7 separate regions of the Homo sapiens genome follow, and regions 1, 2, 3, 4, 5 and 7 are each linked to region 6. The links are contacts of gene promoters, found by promoter capture Hi-C in human tissues and cell types (Jung and others, 2019). All regions are on one chromosome and are shown on one strand. The core of a region is centred on a gene start or on the middle of the fragment in contact, and the rest is flanking DNA. Distances in the headings are between cores, read along the strand shown. Region 1 overlaps ATP9B (ATPase phospholipid transporting 9B (putative)). Region 2 has its middle 8.5 kb from the start of ADNP2. Region 3 overlaps ATP9B (ATPase phospholipid transporting 9B (putative)). Region 4 overlaps RBFA (ribosome binding factor A). Region 5 overlaps PARD6G (par-6 family cell polarity regulator gamma). Region 6 holds the start of CTDP1 (CTD phosphatase subunit 1). Region 7 has its middle 3.9 kb from the start of PARD6G-AS1.

Region 1 (2,700 bases), core at 78-2,577, 350 kb after region 6:
GAGTGTTGCTCTGGGACTAACTCCGTGAATCTGCGTAAGTTCTTCTTGCTCTATTTTTAACGTGCATGTAACTGGCCTTGCAGGGCAGCCAATCATGAGCAGTAAGCGCAGTTAGTGATGGAGGGGAGGGCAGGAGTGCAGGGCCGCGGTGAGAGCTGGGGTTGGTGGGGACACGGCCAGATCCCAAAGCTCACAAGCCTCACCCTGCATTCGCCTTCCAGAGTTGGGGGAGCCCTGCAGGAGTCACGGGGCCTGATGTGCGTGTTAAAGCAAGACATGGAAATGCCTGCAATGAGCTCATGAAACGGTGCTAACCGTGTTCAGTCAGGGAAGGTGTCAAAATAAAAAACACTACTTTCCCATTAGAGGTAAAAGTGCAACAGTTTTAGCTGGTGATGGGTGAAGAAACAGGCTCTCTGGGACAAGGCTGAGGGGTGGTGCAGGAGCAAACCTGTGTGGAGGTAACACTCTCAAAGTTAAACTGCTCATACCAGTGACACACATCCCAGTCCTGGAAGTTCAAACTGCACTTACAAAAGTAGACCCTGATGTCCACACGAGGTTGACGCTGCCATATTGCTTACATGAACGAGGGTCAGGTTTTAAAAGGCTTGAACGAGCCTGCTCATAGTTAATAGCTACATCCTGCATTTCCACATAGCCAGCGGAGAGAATCTGGCAGAGCGGCAGAAGCCACTTCTGGAACTCTGCGCTTTCTGTGCCATTTCCTTGTGTGCAAAGTGAAAACAGTTCCTCCCTCACGTGGTTGTGGTGACGTGAAGGACACCCAGAGGGACAGGCCTCATGCGGCCACAGGAACAGACGCGTGAGGGCACGTGTTCCTGCAAGGCAGGTGAAGAAACAAACCCACCCCGCTCTCCTACCCGGAACAAGGCAGTGTGGGCGACTGGGCAGATGTGGGAGGGAGGGCACCGGTGGGTCTCCTACCTGGAACAAGGCGGTGTGGGCGACTGGGCAGATGTGGGAGGGAGGGCACCGGTGGGTCTCCTATCCGGCACAAGGGGGGGGTGGGCGTCTGGGCAGATGTGGGAGGGAGGGCGCCGGTGGGTCTCCTGGGGGCCAGGCGTGTGTAGGACTTAGCTGTGAGCACACACGGTCCTGCCCAAGGGGCCAACGTCTGGGGGATGCAGACAAGAGGCAGGGGTGGAGGGTGCTGGGCTCCCGGACAGCCCCAGGGGGTGTCGGGGCTGTCAGGAGACAACCCCACCCCCCTCTGCTGTGTGGACCAGGACGGGGCTCAGGACAGCCGGGCTCTCTTCCAGGGATACAGAGAGGCCCTACAATTGATTACTAAGTGCTGGGTGAGGTGTGCCTAAGCTTTAAAGCTGTGGTGTGTTCTATAAAAAGTACATTAAAAAAACCAAAGTAATGAACACTAAGCTGTATAACTATCAATTTTTGAATCTAGCAGTTTCTAACTTTTTTTTTTCTTTTTGAGACAGAGTCTTGCTCTGTCACCCAGGCTGGAGTGCAGTGGCACGATCTCGGCTCACTGCAAGCTCTGCCTCCCGGGTTCATGCCATTCTCCTGCCTCAGCCTCCCCAGCAGCTAGGACTACAGGCGCCTGCCACCACCCTGTCTATTTTTTTTGTATTTTTAGTAGAGACGGGGTTTCACCATGTTGGCCAGGATGGTCTTGCTCTCCTGACCTCATCATCTGCCCACCTCAGCCTCTCAAAGTGCTGGGATTACAGGCGTGAGCCACCGCGCCCAGCCTAGCAGTTTCAACTTATTAGGGCTAACATACTTTAAGATGCTTTAACAGTGACCCTCCCTGTAGAGAGGGCTTCTCTGTGCTCTGGAAGGTCCCGAAAGATTCGCTGCTTAAGACTCTCCATCCAGATGTTGTTGACTCCCTCTCAAATTTCAAATTTGAGCAACTCTTTCAAATTTTAACCATGTTTACAAAGCTCCTGTCTCTGACACTGGGGTTGACAATACAGAGAAATCAGTGGTAATCACATCTTCCTGAAGCCCCAGGAACTTTCTGTAGCTCAGGTGGACACTCCCAACTTAGCTACGGCCGCAATGAGCCCGCAGAGGTGGTGCAGCTGCTAACCTGCCCTGCCACCATGACACACGGCGAGAGGAGAGGTCTTTTAGAGGCTATTTTGGTAACCTCCAAGACCTGCCCTGCCACCATGACACACAGTGAGGGGAGAGGTCTTTTAGAGGCTATTTTGGTAACCTCCAAGGAGAATAAAGCTCTACGTTACAGCTAGAGAACAACTAATCAAAAACATTATTTTCAATGTATATTTAAAACTTTAAAAATGTGAACATTGATAATGCAGACACTTAAGCAAGGATATCCTAAACAAGTTAATTAGCTACACTTGTTTACGGAAAAGAAGATCAAATACTAGTAAACCTGGTTTGTGCAATGTTGTGCTGAACACTGAGAATCTGCATGGCAGGGAGAAGAACATGACAGTGTCCCTAAGGAAGGCTCCGCCAGCCCTTGGGGTGGACATGCAGTGGAGAGGCCAGCTCCTCAGACAGCAACAGAAAGCCAGAGATGGCAGTTGCAGCCCAGACAGCTGGGACTTTGGGCATCTGACCTTTCTCAGCACTGCCCAGGAAAAGTGCTGAGAAACCACCCGGGCACAGCCGCACATTTGGAAACACATCACGGCCCCCCAGGCACGCGCAGAGACCCTGTCACCACCCATCATCTCT
Region 2 (2,700 bases), core at 20-2,519, 420 kb before region 6:
GAAGAAGCTATTTAGGAAGATGTTGTAAGAAGGGGGCTGTTGAATATTGAACATCACCAGTATTTTGCTCGTCTGGGTGCAGCAGGGCAGAGGCTAGTATCAGAGATGAAATCCCTAAATGCATTACAAGTTGTCTTAGTCCATTCAGGCTGCTATAACAAAATACCAGACTGGGTGGCTTATAAACAACAGACATCTATTTCTCACAGTTCAGGAGGCTGGGAAGTCCAAGATCAAGGCAGTGATCGGATTCAGTGTCTGGTGAGGTCCTAGGTCATCATCGAAGGCCATCTTCTCACCATCACCTCAAATGGTGGAAGAAGTTATGGGTCTCCCCTGGACCTCTGTTTATAAGGGCACTAACCCCATCTGTGAGGGCTTCACCATCATAACTTACTCACCTCCCAAAGACCCCACTCTTAATAAATCACATTGGTGGTTAGGATTTCAACATACAAGTTTTGGTGAGACATTCAGTCTATAGCACCAGTTCAGAGGGTAATTGATGTCACCCTGAAGGAGGGAACCATACGGCCTGAAGGGGAGTGGGATTACCTTTGGCCAAAGGAGCTCCAGGGTTTCTGAAATTTTTCCTACCTTTAATTTAAGGATGCCATTGGCTCTCTCAATCTATTCAGAATATATGGGTAGTGAAGGCAGTGTGGTTTGGGGGTAGGAGGTAACACTTTATAGGATCCTCTTATAATGGCTCCATAGAGTGTGTGCCTTGGTCACTTGATGTGAAAGCTGAGATGCTCCAGGTTGGAAACATGAAAGCAAGCAGCTTTTTAGGAACTGTAAGGGCTGTGGCTTTTTGGTAAGGAAATATTTTAACCCACCCTGAAAACAGACATGCAATAACAAACATCCTCAACTCTCACGGCGGGCAGAAGCCAGGTAAAATCCACCTGTATTAGTCTGTTTTCACACCGCTGATAAAGACATACATGAGACTGGGCAATTTACAAAAGAAAGAGGTTTATTGGACTTAGAGTTCCACGTGACTGGGGAGGCCTCACAATCATGGCAGAAGGTGAAAGGCACGTCTCATGTGCTGGCAGCAAAAGAGAGGAGAGCCAAGTGAAACGGTTTCCCCTTATCAAACCATCAGATCTCATGAGACTTATTCACTACCATGAGAACAGCATGGGGAAACCGCCCCCATGATTCAATTCTCTCCCACTGGGTTCTTCCCGCAACCCGTGGGAATTATGGAAGTACAATTCAAAATGAGATTTGGGTGGGGACACAGAGCCAAACCATATCACCATCTGAAGATGCTCACGGGGCTCTTGAGATTTTAATCCCTGGCCATGTTCCATCTTTACGGATTTTTCCACGATTATATTGTCGACAGGTCATAACACGTGCCTAAAATAATCTCAACTATCTTTTTAAAGTTCTCCCACCAATATTGATTTAAGATAGTAACCAATTTGTCTGTACCATGAGCAGTAGTTTCATTGAGAAATTTAGCCAATATTCATCTGAAATCATCTAGTACCACCAACAGGCCTTCTTAGAAGTGCCAGAGATTATCTGAGTAACGGTACAACCGGGCTTCTTCCATAATAGTGGATATCTTATAGTGGCCTCTTTGAATCCCTCCAGGGGTTTATTCTTTAGGGGTTAGATTAGGATCACAGCCTTTGTTAAAACTGTTTGGCATGAGGACCAAGTATTTCCTTTAGTTTCCATGGTGTCTCTTCTTGCCTAGGCCTCAACCTTAATAGAAGGGAAAGGCCTCACCTCTTTAGGAAGTAGGAGTCCAGCTAAAAGCTTCTGAACTTATCCATTTTGGATGGGGGTCCCAGTAGAAGTGAGAAACCTCCTCTGTTTCCAAAGCTTCCCACAGTTGTGTGCTGCTCCCAAAGCCCACCTGCTGCCTCTGTGTGCAGCCACTCTGGACTCTGACTGTCTGACAATCTCTAGTAAACACAGTGAGCTTGGCCATCAGGGTTGATTTTACATCGGGAGAGGATGATATCCTTAACAAAGAATAGAAGGTGGTGATAGCACATCCTACCTGACCACCCCCAGCTTCACTTTTGAGCTACAATCCATTCACAAATAGTATTAGGTCAGGGTTCTCCATCGAGGTCTCCAGTGAACCTAAAAAGTTACAGAAGGCTCCCTGGCTGAGGTAGCACTCCCTTGAGGCTCCCTTTCCTTGGCAGGGGCATGACAGCAGGAGGATTCAGGGCATTGCAGCGTGAACAGTAAGTGGAGAGGAACAGAATCTCCTAAAATGCTAATTGGCTGCCTGGGAAGTATGCATTCTCAGACAGCAGCAATGTCTGCATGGAAGCAGGAACAAGGAGGTCAAATGGGGAGACAAGAACTGTGATATGGTTTAGCTCTGTGTCCCCACCCAAATCTCATCTCGAATTGTAATCCTCGTGTGTCACGGGAGGAACCTGGTGGGAAGTGATTGGATCACGGGGGTGGTTTCCCATGTCATTCTTCTGATAGTGAGGGAGTTCTCACTATCTGATGGTTTAAAAGTGGCAGTTTCCAGTGAGTTCTCTCTCTCTCTCCTGCCACCATATTGGAGGTGCCTTGCTTCTCCTTCACCTTCTGCCATGATTGTAAGCTTCCTGAGACCTCCCCAGCCAGGTGGAACTGTGAGTCAATTAAACCTCTTTATAAATCACTAGTCTCAGGTAGTATCTTTATAGCAGTGTGAAAATGGACTAATAC
Region 3 (3,003 bases), core at 484-2,983, 370 kb after region 6:
ACTGTTCTTAAAAGCTAGGAAGAAATTTCCTTTATCATATTAGCAATTCACACAGGCAGCTACCCGCTACACTGTAAAAATATACATTTTCTTACCATGCACTTTGTACATCATAATTTAATCACTGAGATTTCATCATTTTTGATTGTGGTTATTATAATCATCTCTATATTTTAATGGAATTATTAACATAAGATGCAATTTGATCATCTGAAAAAGCTGCTAATCAATATTCACAGATAGGCTACGTAGTATTTATTCTCTATTGGTCCTGAAGGTCACAGTGTGAAGGCTTTATGTCACTGACAATGATTTGCTCCTCACAAATATATCTGACAAAACCCCACAATTAGTCTTGCTTCAATAGGCACACACGATAAAATGAATTAAAAAATACAGCACGCCTCATGCATTAGTGCCTACTTCTGTAAACCCAAAAGCAATACTATTAATAACCCACTTGTGCTCTGTCATTAATTATAGCTGATTCTTGCAAATAAATACTGGAGTCAGGCGATGACAGCTACATTCTGAAATACTATTTAAATACGGAACTTACCAACATGAGAAAACACAGCCACAGAGGGAAAAGAATGAGACTACTAAACAGCTAGTCTAGAGGAATAAGCAGTCATTAAGAATCACAGTCACTCTTTCTGGACCAAAAGAAGCCGGCGGTCTTCAAAGTTCCTTCCACCCCACGCCTTCAGCGCTTGAGCTGACACCCTCTGCACTCAGAGGCTCTGCCCACCGAGCTTCTGTCCTTCTCCGAGGGCTCATGCCACTAGTTCGGTGCTGGTGTCCTGCGACTGCACTGGACATATGCCCTAACAGTTAAACAGGGCTGAATTTTAATTCTGTGAGGGAACTTCCAGAGAGCATTTAACGTTTGCTCAGCTAGAGCCTGCTATGCTGAGCCTGCGGAGAGCAAGTGATAGGCAAGCAGAACTTTCTACTCTCTTAGAGAAAATGAAATATTGATCACTTATCATAAGAAACAATGACCGGGGCATAAGTAGGTTCCACATTATGAATACGAAATCAGTTATTTACACTTTGACAATCACCATCACATCTACCTTCAAGTATCGTATCACCACACATACCACACAAGACACATCACACTTCAAGTGTTTAATTGCTTATGCCTCACAGGACCTTTAAGGATTTAAAATTAATTCCTCAGAATTCAATTATTTGTATAATACAGATTCATCTATGCACATGTGTAGGTAAGGAGAAAGATTGTTTCTCCTTCAGGAAAAATGAAAATCAAAGACTGCTTATTTCCTGAAGAACAGCAACTGTGTATCAGCGACTAAAACTAGGGCACTCTACTTACTAAACTGCATCCTTCCTAAAGACCGAGATGACACAGCGCCACAAACAGGGTTTTAAGAGGATGGTATGGGTGCACAGTGGATGAAACTAGTTAAGTCTCTCAAATGATAATGTTGCTTATTAACCATAGATGTTGTGATAGGTCAGAGCTGAGGTTAAATAGAAAACATCAATTGAACCATTTCCCTAAATAAAGCTCCAGGGTGCAATATTCTAAGCACTTTATTCGATAAAAAATGCTTTTAAAACGGTACTTTGGTGATCGGGAAACACTACTATCATCCGTCAACCTAACTGCAGCAAAGTTCAATAAGCTAAATAATGAACCATTTAGATGATTTTCCTGAGGCTTTAGGGACTTGCAAACATTGCATCAATAGAGCTCTTTAAAAATTATGATGAAGTCTATTGTTTTCATTTTCAGATTTAAAATACGTTTTAGGGATTTTTAAAAGGTTATTTAATGTTCTGCTATTTTTTATCATTGTCCAATTTCCCAAGTAGAAAGACATTTTAGACAAGTAAAAAAATTTAACTGTAAGGTTAGCAATGTCTATAGTTTCTCTAAATTTTTAATAATCTTGGAGTCAATGAAATCTCTATTGTGAATTCCCAATTTAAGATTCAAAAAGTGTTATGACTTATATTAAAACTTAAAAATAAAAAATCCCAGATACTTTGAATAAAAAATGTGGAATAAGGTAATATGGTAAATATGTAATACAGTATTTTTAAAACTTCAAATACAGTTTTCTTTGGGAAAAATCTCTAGTCTAGGTTTCTCATATTTATGGCAGGAAAATCCTTCTTTTTCAATACATAATCACATGACATTTTTGAGAATTTCCAGAATGCCATAACAGAAAAAACAATGTGTTCGACCCCTTCTTGATAGGAATATGGGGGCTTGCTTCCTCTTACAGAGCGGTTGCTCATGACCTGTGTTTGTCTCACAGCCCACACTAGAATGCTAAGAAGACAGCAACTGATAAATCTTACAAGTCTCAACTCATCGTCTTGTCAGTCTAAATGCCCATATTTGCTTATGATTGTGGAACTACGCCTCTTCGCTCAGATTCTCTTTTACTAAATAAATGGATCTGAGACACATACACACACCCCAATTCCAAACGTGGTTCTGAGTTTAGCTACAGAGATTTTTACGTATCTATCAGTCAACACAATCTATGAACTGTAACAGGGCTGATGGCTAAAGGAAGCTTAACAATCGTGCCCACTGACAGAAAGGTGTAGCCAACAGCGCGCTGACAGGGAGTGGGAAGAGTGGAGCTTGGGTTTCCACATTTCCTCAAAGTTGAAAAACTCTATACGATGACGACATTGTATTCTGGAGCTTTTCTGAAATCTAATACTTCAACTGATCCCAATTTTCAGAGACTTTGCCAATTACTTTCTGAAAAGAGGGAAGTGACAATGTGATTCACAAGAAGGAACTTAAGTTCTTTATCGTAATTTCACATTGTACCAAAAAGGCAAATACCATCTAAACTTTGGGACATGGCCTTGCTAAACTATAGGAAACTAGCTCCTACTTAAACTTCCACTAATATAGTTTTAAGGACCAATATTCCTACAGATGTGTTTTACTCCCCTCCTCCCACTTGACCAGTAGCTCCCCGCACCATCTTCCCACACAGCCAA
Region 4 (2,967 bases), core at 468-2,967, 370 kb before region 6:
TTCTAGTTTGTGAATGTAGAGGTATTCACAGTAGTCTCTGAGGATCTTTTGCATTTCTGTGGTGTTAGTTGTACTGCCTCCATTTTTATTTCTGACTGTGTTTATTTGCATCTTCTGTTTCTTGGTTAATCTAGCTATCAGCCTATCAATTTTGTTTACTTTTTCAAAAAACCAACTTTTCATTTCATTGATCCTTTGTATTTTTCTTTTGGTCTCAACTTCATTTAGTTCTGCCCTCATATTTCTTATTTCTTCTGCTAGCTTTGACTTTGATTTGTTCTTATTTTTCTAGTTCCTTGAGGTGCAATGTTAGGTTGTTAATTTGTGATCTTTTGTATGTTTGAAGTAGGCATTTAATGGTATAAGCTTCCGTTTTAGCACTGCTTTTATCGTATCCCAGAGGTTTTGGTGTCTTGTGTCTCTGTTTTCATTTGTTTCAAAAAGTAAATACTTAAGAGTAAGTTCACAGGGAGAAGCCCAACAGACACCCCTTTCTTCAGCTCATCATTGTGGACATCACCAGGAACATACAACCCAACACTGACAGCACAGCATCACTGCTGTGATGTCCCTGCAAAAAAGCAAGTACTAAATGTGATCATGAGGAAACACCAGACAAGCCCAAACTGAGGAACACTCCACAAAATAACGGCTGCACTCCTCAAAATTAGGGCCACGAAGGCTCAAGGAAGCCCAAGAGCTACTCGAGGGCATGGGATTGAGGGTGACAGGTAAACATAACAAGTGCCTCTGGAACAGGCCCTTTGCCATACAGGACATCCCTAGGGCAAATGGCACACCTCAAAGAGGCCTGAGGATTAACTGACATCAGGGCTGGCTTCCCAGGTGTGCTGCCCATGTGGGCATGGGGACCTCATGCTCGGTTAACATTCTGATGTTACCATCTTTTTTTTGAGACAGGGCCTCACTCTGTCGCCCAGGATGGAGTGCAGTGACTATTCACAGGTGCAATCAATGTGCTTGCAGCCTCAAACTCCCAGACTCCAGTGATCCTCCTGCCTCAGTCTCCTGAGTACTAACAGCACGTGCCACCGCACCTGATGCTACACCAAAATTTAACAGTGGTGTCTCTGGTAGCTGAGACTACATGGGGCTTTTGTTTCCTCTATTCTATTGGTATCTGTTTTAACATTTTTCAACAAAGAATATATATTCCTTCTGTAAAAAGAAAGTATGAAATTATTTTTAGAAATACAGAATTAATTTATTTCAGTATCTTGCCAGCACCCACAGCATTTATGATCTTTGAGGCCACAGTAGAGCAGCAGCACAGAAGGGTGACTATAGTCAATAACAATTTAATTGCATATTTAAAAATAACTAAAACAATATAATCGGATTGTTTGTGGCACAAAGGATAAATGCTTGAGGGGATGGGTGCCCCAGTCTCCATGATGTGCTTTTTCACATTGCATGTCTGTATCAAAACATCTCATGTACCCCACAAATATATACACCTACTCTGTGCCCATGATAATTAAAAATAAAAATAAAAAATTTTTAATCAGGAAACACTGATCATGACCTGTCCTCCCCAGTTCCCTCCCTTCCTGTGTCACAAACCAGGAACCAAAAGGTCTCTGCTCCCCTTACCCTGGCCTGGGTGGCACAGGCCTGTCCTTCCTCTAGCTCTGTCCCTTCTCCCTGCCCTGTTGTCCCCTCATTCTTCCCCCAAAATACACTCAAGCCCTCTCTCCTTCAAGGCAGCTGGCAAATTTTCAAAGTACCTCAAGTTTCTGATGTAAAACCAGGTTTTCCTTCTGGACAAAAGGAGTGGGGAAGAAAACTGTACTTCTATTCCTAAGAGAGGGTCTCAGGCCCTTAGAGAGGAAAAGATTCTGTACTAAAGATAATACTGGAAAAAAATCAACCCAGGGCAGTCACCCGTAGAGCAGAGGTTCTAATGCTGGCCTCATACTCAGACCACCAAGGTGGCTCTGGCCCGTCTCCAGGCCCAGGTGTCTTCAAACAGCAGGTGTTTCAGATGCACAGCCAAGGCTGAGAGGCATTGTGCTGGATGTTGGGTCCAGTCTTCTGGGGGCCTACAAGGGGTGATTAAGTTCCCCTGTCTACCTCAAAATGTTCTAATGTTTGTAGAGTTGCTTACTGGGCCATCTGCATTACCAAGGAACAGCGAACCAGAAGGCTGAAGTGGCCGACAGTCTGGTTTTATGAGCCCCCAGGGGATGTGCCCGGAACTTTGAGAACCATTGACCTTTACTAACAAGGTAAGGGACAGTGACACAGGAGAGCTTATCAGACTGAAAACCTGTGAAGTCGTTTCACATTTCATCAGCAGTTTAACAGTGACAGGTACTTGTAAAAAGCTCACAAGGTTGATCTGAGGACTTCACTGGATCAGTGCCTCCCTAACTTCTGGGTGTTTAGTGTGCGTGCACGTCATCTGGAGAGCTGCGGAAAATCCCCAGGAGTGGATCATCCAGGGAAGGCCATGGAAATCCCCGGGAGTGGACCCATTCAGAAGGGCGTGAGCTTCCATGTCCCTAACCTGCTCCCAGGAAAGGCCGTGGAAATCCCCAGGAGTGGACCCATTCAGAAGAGGGTGAGCTTCCATGTCCCTAACCCGCTCCCAGGGAAGGCCGCGGAAATCCCCAGGAGTGGACCCATTCAGAAGGGGGTGAGCTTCCGTGTCCCTAACCCGCTCCCAGGGAAGGCCGCGGAAATCCCCAGGAGTGGACCCATTCAGAAGCGGGTGAGCTTCCGTGTCCCTAACTCGCTCCCAGGGAAGGCCACGCCAGAAACAGGGAGGCCTAAGCCAGTTTTCTCTGAAACGTGCCCACACTCCTCTTTCTAGGAGGCACTGAGCTGATGCCTGGTGGGATCCCCTACAAACGTGCCCACACTCCACTTTCTAGGAGGCACTGAGCAGACGCCTGGTTGGATCCCCTGCAAACGTGCCCACACTCCACTTTCTAGGAGGCACTG
Region 5 (2,816 bases), core at 266-2,765, 490 kb before region 6:
GTCAGGATAGTTTTAATAAATCAGGTCAAGCCCTTATGTAACAGAAGGGGTTATTTGTAAGAAAATATTTCTTAGAAAATCTTTAGTTTGAAAACTTGTAACCGTGAGAGCTTCATAGGACCAGACTTCAATTTCCCCTCTTGTTACGGATACTTCAAAATAGAAATGGAAGAAGAAAATATAATTTAATTTGACGGCTGGGTGTGGTGGTTCACATCTGTAATCCCAGCTACTCAGGAGGCTGAAGCATGAGAATTGCTGGGAGGTGGAGGCTGTAGTGAGCCGAGATTGTGCCATTGCACTCCAGCCTGGGTGACAGAGCGAGACTGTCTCCAAAAAAAAAAAAGTTTATACATATACATACACACACACACACACACACACACACACACACACAAACATAATTTGACTGAAAACAGGATATGGGGAGAGAGGGTGGTTAGACAGTTGCCTAAAAAATGTGACTCCTTGAATTGTTTACTTTGTGGAAAATACCAGATTTAACATATTGCTTGAAAAAGAAGCAGTGACAATTTTTTTCTTGTAAAAAGGTATTTTAGAAATCAAAGTTGGAATTTTAGAAATGGGGTATTCTTTAAAACAAATTTTATTTCTAAGAAAGTTTGGAATTTTTCACTAATGAAGTCCATATGCAAGGGTTCATATTTAAAGAGATGGAGAAACGGATTGTTGTCTGAAATTCAGTCACCTCGTCCCCATACCACCGCAGCTGCATGCGGGCAGTACTTCCTGCACCTCCCACTGCAGACAGGCTGAGGTTGTGTGTTCTCTCACCTGAGCTGCAGCTCACTGGAAGCAGGCGGGGTGGTTGGCACCAAACGCACCCTGGGCCCTTGGATGCTGGGGAGGGGGTTCAGGGTGCAGACCACGGCCGGCCCATCTCTTCAAGAGTTCAGGAAGAACCAGAGTCGCATGCACTTGCTGGCCCTCCTCCAAGTGGGGTGTCGGCCCGTTTCCTCCACGGAGCCACTGGCTCTTTTGCCCCCTGCCTATGAACGTGTTCATCTTTCAGCTTACACAGCCATTTGACAGTGGTAGACATTACTTAGCTCATCAACCTCCTGTCATTCAGAATTAGTTTATGAACCCATGGCATCAACCTCACCTGAGTGTCCTTGAGCTGCACCCCAGGCCCAGGGGTTCAGAACCTGCCTTTGTACAGGGTGGTCTGTGTGCCTGCTGCTGAGAGGTGCTGCACCATGAGGGGATACACTCCCTGCTGCTCAGAAATCCCCTGGGCGTTCATCTTAGGCCATGTTCCCATGGTCGTCCTCCCTACGTGGCTCAGAGCATCAGAGACGCTGGGGGAGGAAGAGAGGACAGGCCTGGGTACATCTCATGGCCCCAGCTCCACCCTCTGCAGCGCCTCCTCCCAGGACCCCAAGTCTGTCTGGAAACATGGTGGAGCGTTGCTGCTGCCTTGCCTGTCATGGGGGTTACACAAAAGACCTTCCCTGTCCAGGCCATTCCGGGGCCCTGAATCCCTGAGCCTGTGTCCCTGTCCCCAGGAGTACCTGCTCCAAGCTTGCTGCCCTGAGTGAGCTGCTGCATGAAGAGCCGTGCCCTGTCCTCAGCACTGCCCATGTGTTATCCTGCACACACATCCACACGCAACACTGCCCATGTGTTATCCTGCACACGGGTCCACACACAACACTGCCCATGTGTTATCCTGCAACACGTCCACACGCAACACTGCCCATGTGTTATCCGGCACACAGGTCCACACACAACACTGCCCACGTGTTATCCTGCACACACGTCCACACGCAACATGATGCTCTCAGGCAGGAACCACAACAGAGGACCCACAGCAGGGATGTGACCTGTGAGGCCCAATGGGTGTCACTTGTAATTGTGAACTGTCACTGTTTTGATTGGCCATTGTCTTGCCCTGAAAAGTGGTAATTATTCCATACGGTGACACACGGAGCCCTGCACCTTTAGATGCGCTGAAACTCCCTTGGAGCACAGGGCCAAGGCCAGAGGGGTCAGCATGGGATGTTAGGGTCTGGCCAGCACGACTGAGATCAAAGGGGGCTCTGGTTTGTTGGATCCTCAAGTGTTTGCAGTTGTGGGGCCCCAAAAGAGGTGGCTGTGGTGTGGAGAAGGGGCCCTGAAGGGACTTCTGTGAGAACAGCCCCCTTATGGTCGGGGGAGGACCAGACCTTCCTGGTCTGCAGGGAGGGCTATGCACTCCCCTGAAGTTCCCCGGGAAGGTGGACATGGGGAGTGAGGACCCTGTGGACTGTCTCGTGCTCTGAGGATGTAAGGAGCCAGGACAGGATGAAAGGGGCACGTACCTCCCCTGCTTGTCTGACGCTCTCTACAGAGGACATTTACCAGAAACTTGAAAATGCTGCTGTAAAAAAGCTGCCACGGAGCTGTTGTGTTTGGGGCAACTAGATCTGACCATGGAGGAGGCTGTAACTGATCGCTTTCAATGAACTTGACGCCTTTAAATTCTAAGGGAGGTGGAGATTTTCCACTGAGACAAGGCGTCCTGATGCCCCCATGACCGAGGGTCACACCAGCAGTGTCTGCCATGGCACACGTGCCCCAGACTGTGTCGCCTGCTTAGCAGAATGCAGTGGGGCTGCTGAGAGAGACACTTGCAGCCCTGCATCTGGGCCTTTGTTCTGCTTGGGGTGCGGCAGAGAGGAGGAACACACTCATGATTGGGGTGGTGTGCTGTGTTGGTGCCGACCTGACCATACGGTGTCCATGAGCTGAGGCTGTGTGCCGCTGACATGACTGCCTTCATCTCAGAAGGAAAAATACAAGGGAACAGTCAC
Region 6 (2,700 bases), core at 132-2,631:
TCTTGCGGAACCAGATGCAGAGAAGATCCTCAACAAACACAGGGTCAGGGCAAGCCAAAGGGACGAGGAGCCGCGGCTGCCGAGGAGGGAAGAGAGTGGCATCCCCAGAAGGAGCGGCACCTTTCCCAGAGGGAGCTCACGCCCGGCCCACTGCGGGCTGGAGTGTCCACCTCTCCCTGGAGTTTCTGTTCTCACAATCAAAACTACCAGAGCCAGGCGCACACGCGTGTCCACTTGCCCGCCCATCCCAGAACACAAGGGTAGATTCAAACATGGCTGGACACTTCGGTGCTACGGAAACATATCCCCTTCTGGGGTCAGAGCACAGCTACTGAGAGCTGTGGAGTCTGTCACAACGCCCACGTCACCCTGAAGCAGCCTGCGACAATGCCCACTGTGGTCAACCACGGGGCTACTGCCTTCGCTGCAGGCCTGGGTTCCGCCCGTTCCTTAGCCACGAAACAGAACTGCACCAGGTTTTACAACTGCGTTTCACAAAGTTTACAAAAATTTAAAGATGTGCACACACCCAACAGTTTATATTTCAATAACAGGTCTGGAGCCTGCCTGATGACTCTTGTGCTCACAGCCACCCATGAGTTTTCCTAAGTCACAAAGGTGGAGCTAAAGGAAGGGGCGGGGACTATCACTGCAGAAAGAAAGAAACAAACATAGCTTTTCCAAACAGTAACTTCGTGTCGCTACGCAGGACCCTTTCCTTTTATCTCAAAATGCTCCCCGTTGGTAAAACCACAGGTGGTGACTATCCAGTTTTAGGGGAGAAGCGCAGTGCCTGCGTCCCGCTTTATCGCTCCCTCACCAGGGGCGCCCCTGCCCACCGCGGACGCAGCAGCCCGGGGGTCCTCCAGGATCCCTCCCCGGAGCCGCCCGCCCTCGGCCCCGCCCGGCTCAGCACACTCACCCTGGGGCGACCACCTGGCCCGGCTGCGCGCACAGCTCCCGCACCACGCCCGCGCGCTCCGACCTCAGCCTGCGTTCCGGCCGCGCGGGGCGCACGCAGCCCCCGGAGGCTACACGGGACTGAGAGGCCCCGGAGGACTGCGCGGAGGCGGCGGCCTCGAACACGGCCAGCACCGAGCCGATGCGCACGGCCGCGCCCGCCGCCACCCTCCACTCCAGCAGGCGCAGCGGCGCGGGCCCCGGGCAGCGCACCTCGGCCACAGCCGCCGTCGGGGCGCCCTCGGCAGGAACGCGACCCGCGGCCGGCACCTCCATCGCGGACAGAGGGCGGGCGGGCGGTCGGTACGGGGCCTGCGCTGCGCTCAGAGCGCAGCGCCTACCGCGGCGACACAACCCAGGCGGCGACGCTGTAGTTCCTCTCGGTACCGGCTTCCACCCGTCGCCTAGCCCGCGCCGACTTCCTGGAGGGCGCGTGACGTCACGCAAGGGCGCCGCGTACGTGCGTACGTGCGCGTGTAAATACGAGCGCCGCGCGGGGCCGGAGCCGGCTCCGTCCTGGGACCAACCCTGCGTGCCGGCCGTGAAGAACTGCGTTCCTGAGCCCTACCTACTTTTCCTCGGAGCGCCGGCACCGTGGAGCAGCGGCATGCAACGCGGGCCGCTGTCGCCCAGTCCCAGTGACGGTCTTGGCGCGCTCGGAACTACGTATCCCGGCGTGCACCGCGGACAGAGCATGGCGGGACTACGAGTCCCAGCGTTCAACGCAGGCCTGCGTGCCATTACCCCATCACGCGCTGAGACCCAGCATCCCGAGACTACGAGTTCCGGCATGCACCGCGAGCCGCTCTCCTCCACTCCCATCGCGCACTGTGAGTCGCAACGTCGCGGGACTACGGGTCCCGGCATGCCTTGCGCGCCGCGGGCCCAGAGACGTGAGGCTGTCGGCGTCCTGGTGGCCCCGCCTCGTGTCCCCCCCCGGACCCCACGCCGCGGGAGCTTGGGGGTTGCGGTCTTCTCTTCCTCCGACCTCACCTTCGATGCGGAAGCGCAGGGGCAGGTGCGCCGCCCTCGGCCCGCGCAGGCGGTGGGCCCGTCTGGGGCAAGGCGCCCGGAAGCGCCTGGTTGGTTCAGAAAATCGGACCGCAGCGGGAGGGCGGGCACCGGCGCGTGGTCTCAGTGGCCCCAGGCGAACCCTGATGAGCAGCAGCCGCAAGTGGCTTACTAAAGGAGCCACTTTCTACGTTTGTCTGGAATTTACGTGAATTAAGCTGGCGGGCGGGCGGCCAGGCCTGTAGTCTCAGCACTTTGGGAGGCTCAGCACTTCGGGAGGCTGTGGCGGGCGGATCACCTGAGCCTGGGAGTTGGAGACCAGCCTGCGCAACGTAGCAAGACCCTATCTCTAAAACAGATTCATTAATACTTAGCCAGGCGCGGTGGCTGAGGTCCCAGCTACTCGGCAGGCCCAGGCTGGCCTGAGCCAGACCGCTCTGGACTGTTTTAATTTTTTCAGCCTTAATACCTGCCAGAATTTTTTTTTTACTATGTATCTTTGTCCTTACGTATATAAATTTTATATACAATTGAGATTATCCTGTATTTGCTTTTCCCCCCTCACTTTTATATGGTGACTTTTCTCATGTTAGGCTGAATACTAACATTTTGGAAACTGTCGGCCTGAAAACGAGCGGAGACACAGTTTCTCTAAGTAGAGAGTTTATTTGGGCCACACTTGAGCACAAATTCAAGGCGCCCTGAATGTGTACTCCGATTAGCAGTTAA
Region 7 (2,842 bases), core at 265-2,764, 460 kb before region 6:
TTTTGTAAACGGAAAAGCAGGCCAAGGGAGCAAGAACTTGGCATGGGTTCTCAGATGTAGAAGCTTATGTAGTCATAGTCAGAACTTCTTTAGTGTTGAGAAATTAGATTCAGGATATTGTTAAATTATACCAAGTCCTTCAGACATTATGGATAAGTATTTTGACCCTGGAAACTAGAAGTTTAATTTAGACAAAACCATGTGCATTCTAAAAATGTTTTTAAGGATTTCTAAGTAGGACTCAAATAGGTAAGAACTGATAGACATGGTGATGTCCCTAGACAGTCTAACTTTATTACTAAACAGATTTCATACTGAACTTTGTTTTTCATAAGATACTGAACTGAAACCATGTTTAGCATTTTAGTAGCAACACATCTATTTTTAGTATCTCAACTTTTACCCTAATTTATCAAACCAGTTAAACACGGAATATTATATCAAAGCAAAAAAACAAAAACAAAAAACCGATGCTACAAATAGCTAGGAAATGGCTAGAAAATGTACAGCACTGGGAGTTGATACAGATGTATTCTGCTCACTTCTCAATTAGGAGCTTATTAGACAAAGATGATCACTACTATCACCTATGAATAAAAAATGAAGTCAGAAGTGAAGTCGTTTGTGACTAGGAAATGGGGGTACAGAGAACCACTGTAAATACAATGTGCAGTTCTGGGATGAGGTTATCAATTTTCTAACAACATGTGAGACATAACCAGAAGAGTGGCAGCCTTAGAACCAACACAATTAGACACCCAAGCTGCTTCATCCCAAAGGGGTCGTGGGGCTGGAAATGGGAGCAGGGGACAGAGCAGGGCAACAGAGCAGGGCTGAACTTGGAATTCCCAAGTGCATTCCAAAAATCCTTGCCCTCCCCTTCAATTCTGTCCTCTCCTTTCGTGTAGTCTTACTGATATATTTAATCATTTGAAAGCACATATAAAACCTAGAAAAATGTTTTAATAGCCAAAAATGACCTTCCCTAAAAAATTCCTAATCTCTTTAAAATGACCTCTTATAAATTCCCAGTTATTTTCATAAGCTGTTTTCCACAATATAATAACAAACGGTGGATGAATCTCCCATCCTTTTTAGGACCAAAGATCACTTTCCTTGTTGTAATGAGACGTCTAATCTGGGCCTACACAGGGACTCTTTCAAGCATTTGTAGCTTATAAGAGTCCAAATTTGGGATCCTAATTATATATATGTGATGCTTGGAGTTTGAATTGTTTTTATTTTCAGCAAACTGTCTTGTGTGGTTTTTCCATATATTCAGTCTTCCCATTCTAAACAAGCTGCTTGGTAGGAGGCCAGGAAGTCCAACGAGTGAATGGATCTGTGACTCTCACAGGATGTTTTTATGAATTTTATGACTCTTTCGAGATACACATACATCTAACACAGAAAGATTACTGTCAGAAGAACCACTGAACCACTAAAGCCTTATGATTCATTGCTAATGTTCTATTTTTTCTAGTGCACTTTTAGGTGAATGACAAATTATTTAACATTAAACTTTCCATATCATGGGTTCAAAACTGTAGGAAACTACACAATTTCTGGAAAAAAAATACATTGATTCATTGCAATTAATTCTGTATTTGTATTTGAAAGTATGACCTCACAGCTTAGTTTGCATACAGCAAACATAGACGTCTATGTGGCTGCCAAAGTTTAGTTTACACTTTAAATATCTTAAATTCTTATCGGAAAGTTCCCTTCTGAAAAGGACTTTATGTATTTTCTTTTTTAAAAGAAATAATGTTTAGTTCAGAGATGAGCATGCAAAAAAAAAGAAATCATGTTGCTGGTGATGAGCAAAATGAAGATAAGTGGGTCTGGAGCACCCTCTTTAAAAGGCCATGAAGAACAACACTAGCTACTGTTTAGCAACCTTACATATATTTTTCCTCTCAAAATGCACAGCTGAATCATTTGCGTGAATGACTGGTATTAGTATTTGTTTTGAACTGGACACCATGATGGGCCTAAAGATCCCTTTCAGACACCACAGGCTCTGGCGTTTCATCTACTTTATAAGGTGGTCTCCTAGACAGCAGTCCCCATATAAGCATAGGTCTTTGAGGTTGGTAGTTAAGTACATTCTCATTTTAACTCTCTATTATGAAAAATCTGATAATATTCTAGACTTTAACATTTTTCCAACCTTCTAGGTCACATATTTACACTTTTTACCCAAGGGAGTTCATGGATCATAAATTAAGAAACTCCTGAGTTTAGGATCTGAAGAAAGTGAAGGGCTGGGTACTGTTCTAAGTAATGTATTTTTAGGCACATTCACAAAATATGAAAACAGCTTCCCTACATAACCTCTATATTGCTAAAATGACATTTAAACTTGCAGTTAATATTAAAGACTTAGTACTTAGGACAAATGATCAAAAATCAGAATTCTAAAGCTGTGGTGTAGCATCTGCACAACAGAAAGCCGAACTTGCAGAAGCCTGAGTTAGCAGGTGTGCTACCAAGTAAGCCCTCATCATCAGAAACATCTCACACTTACTTTCACCACCTATGAAAAGAAATTAGCTTGAAGAAACTGGACACTTAATAACCATAAGAGAAACTTCCAGCAGTACTTCATAGATGGCAATTTTGTTGCTTAGTTCATGAAAATTCAGCAGAGAGAATCTAAACAGCAAAACTGCATGCATTTTTTTATCGTTGTTTTCACTAACTCAGGACTATCATTCTTCGTCACTAATATATTGTCACTATCAAATTTAACATGCAAAATGTTTAGAATGGCACCTGGCACATAGGAACTGCTCTGGTAACCATCTCTATGTTGTTATTGTTGACAGCACCACCAGAA

Evidence for each region. The method cuts DNA at HindIII sites, captures the fragments that hold promoters and counts their contacts. A contact is called where the count stands out against the background at its distance.
Region 1: a contact is called between a fragment that was not itself captured here and the fragment with the promoter of CTDP1 in region 6, in 2 of the 25 tissues and cell types used here (H1 embryonic stem cells and dorsolateral prefrontal cortex).
Region 2: a contact is called between a fragment that was not itself captured here and the fragment with the promoter of CTDP1 in region 6, in 3 of the 25 tissues and cell types used here (dorsolateral prefrontal cortex, lymphoblastoid cells and spleen).
Region 3: a contact is called between a fragment that was not itself captured here and the fragment with the promoter of CTDP1 in region 6, in 2 of the 25 tissues and cell types used here (H1 embryonic stem cells and dorsolateral prefrontal cortex).
Region 4: a contact is called between a fragment that was not itself captured here and the fragment with the promoter of CTDP1 in region 6, in 2 of the 25 tissues and cell types used here (IMR-90 fibroblasts and spleen).
Region 5: a contact is called between a fragment that was not itself captured here and the fragment with the promoter of CTDP1 in region 6, in 1 of the 25 tissues and cell types used here (spleen).
Region 7: a fragment that was not itself captured here is called in contact with the fragment with the promoter of CTDP1 in region 6 in 1 of the 25 tissues and cell types used here (spleen).

The regions. Positions count from the first base shown.
Region 1 is chr18:79,333,113-79,335,812 of GRCh38, reverse strand. All of the region lies in intron 17 of ATP9B (ATPase phospholipid transporting 9B (putative)), which reads right to left. Among named protein-coding and RNA genes, the nearest start is that of NFATC1, 61 kb to the left of the region's middle. RefSeq lists a silencer at 1-13. The HindIII fragment of the contact is 8,839 bases long and covers 1-2,700 here.
Region 2 is chr18:80,099,379-80,102,078 of GRCh38, reverse strand. No RefSeq gene overlaps it. Among named protein-coding and RNA genes, the nearest start is that of ADNP2, 8.5 kb to the left of the region's middle. The HindIII fragment of the contact is 4,451 bases long and covers 1-2,700 here.
Region 3 is chr18:79,312,631-79,315,633 of GRCh38, reverse strand. All of the region lies in intron 15 of ATP9B (ATPase phospholipid transporting 9B (putative)), which reads right to left. Among named protein-coding and RNA genes, the nearest start is that of NFATC1, 82 kb to the left of the region's middle. The HindIII fragment of the contact is 3,897 bases long and covers 1-3,003 here.
Region 4 is chr18:80,048,888-80,051,854 of GRCh38, reverse strand. RBFA (ribosome binding factor A) reads right to left here. Exons shown (of 7, transcript NM_024805.3): 7 at 1,204-2,967. Among named protein-coding and RNA genes, the nearest start is that of RBFA, 16 kb to the right of the region's middle. RefSeq lists an enhancer at 2,118-2,967. The HindIII fragment of the contact is 5,421 bases long and covers 1-2,967 here.
Region 5 is chr18:80,166,155-80,168,970 of GRCh38, reverse strand. All of the region lies in intron 2 of PARD6G (par-6 family cell polarity regulator gamma), which reads left to right. The region is part of intron 1 of PARD6G-AS1 (PARD6G antisense RNA 1); the gene reads right to left. Among named protein-coding and RNA genes, the nearest start is that of PARD6G-AS1, 20 kb to the right of the region's middle. The HindIII fragment of the contact is 6,518 bases long and covers 1-2,816 here.
Region 6 is chr18:79,678,484-79,681,183 of GRCh38, reverse strand. It overlaps CTDP1 (CTD phosphatase subunit 1), which reads right to left and starts at 1,381. Exons shown (of 13, transcript NM_004715.5): 1 at 923-1,381. The coding sequence starts at 1,236. It overlaps CTDP1-DT (CTDP1 divergent transcript), which reads left to right and starts at 1,439. Exons shown (of 5, transcript NR_136643.1): 1 at 1,439-1,790. RefSeq lists enhancers at 1,240-1,748, 1,749-2,256. The HindIII fragment of the contact is 29,025 bases long and covers 1-2,700 here.
Region 7 is chr18:80,142,589-80,145,430 of GRCh38, reverse strand. No RefSeq gene overlaps it. Among named protein-coding and RNA genes, the nearest start is that of PARD6G-AS1, 3.9 kb to the left of the region's middle. The HindIII fragment of the contact is 4,554 bases long and covers 1-2,842 here.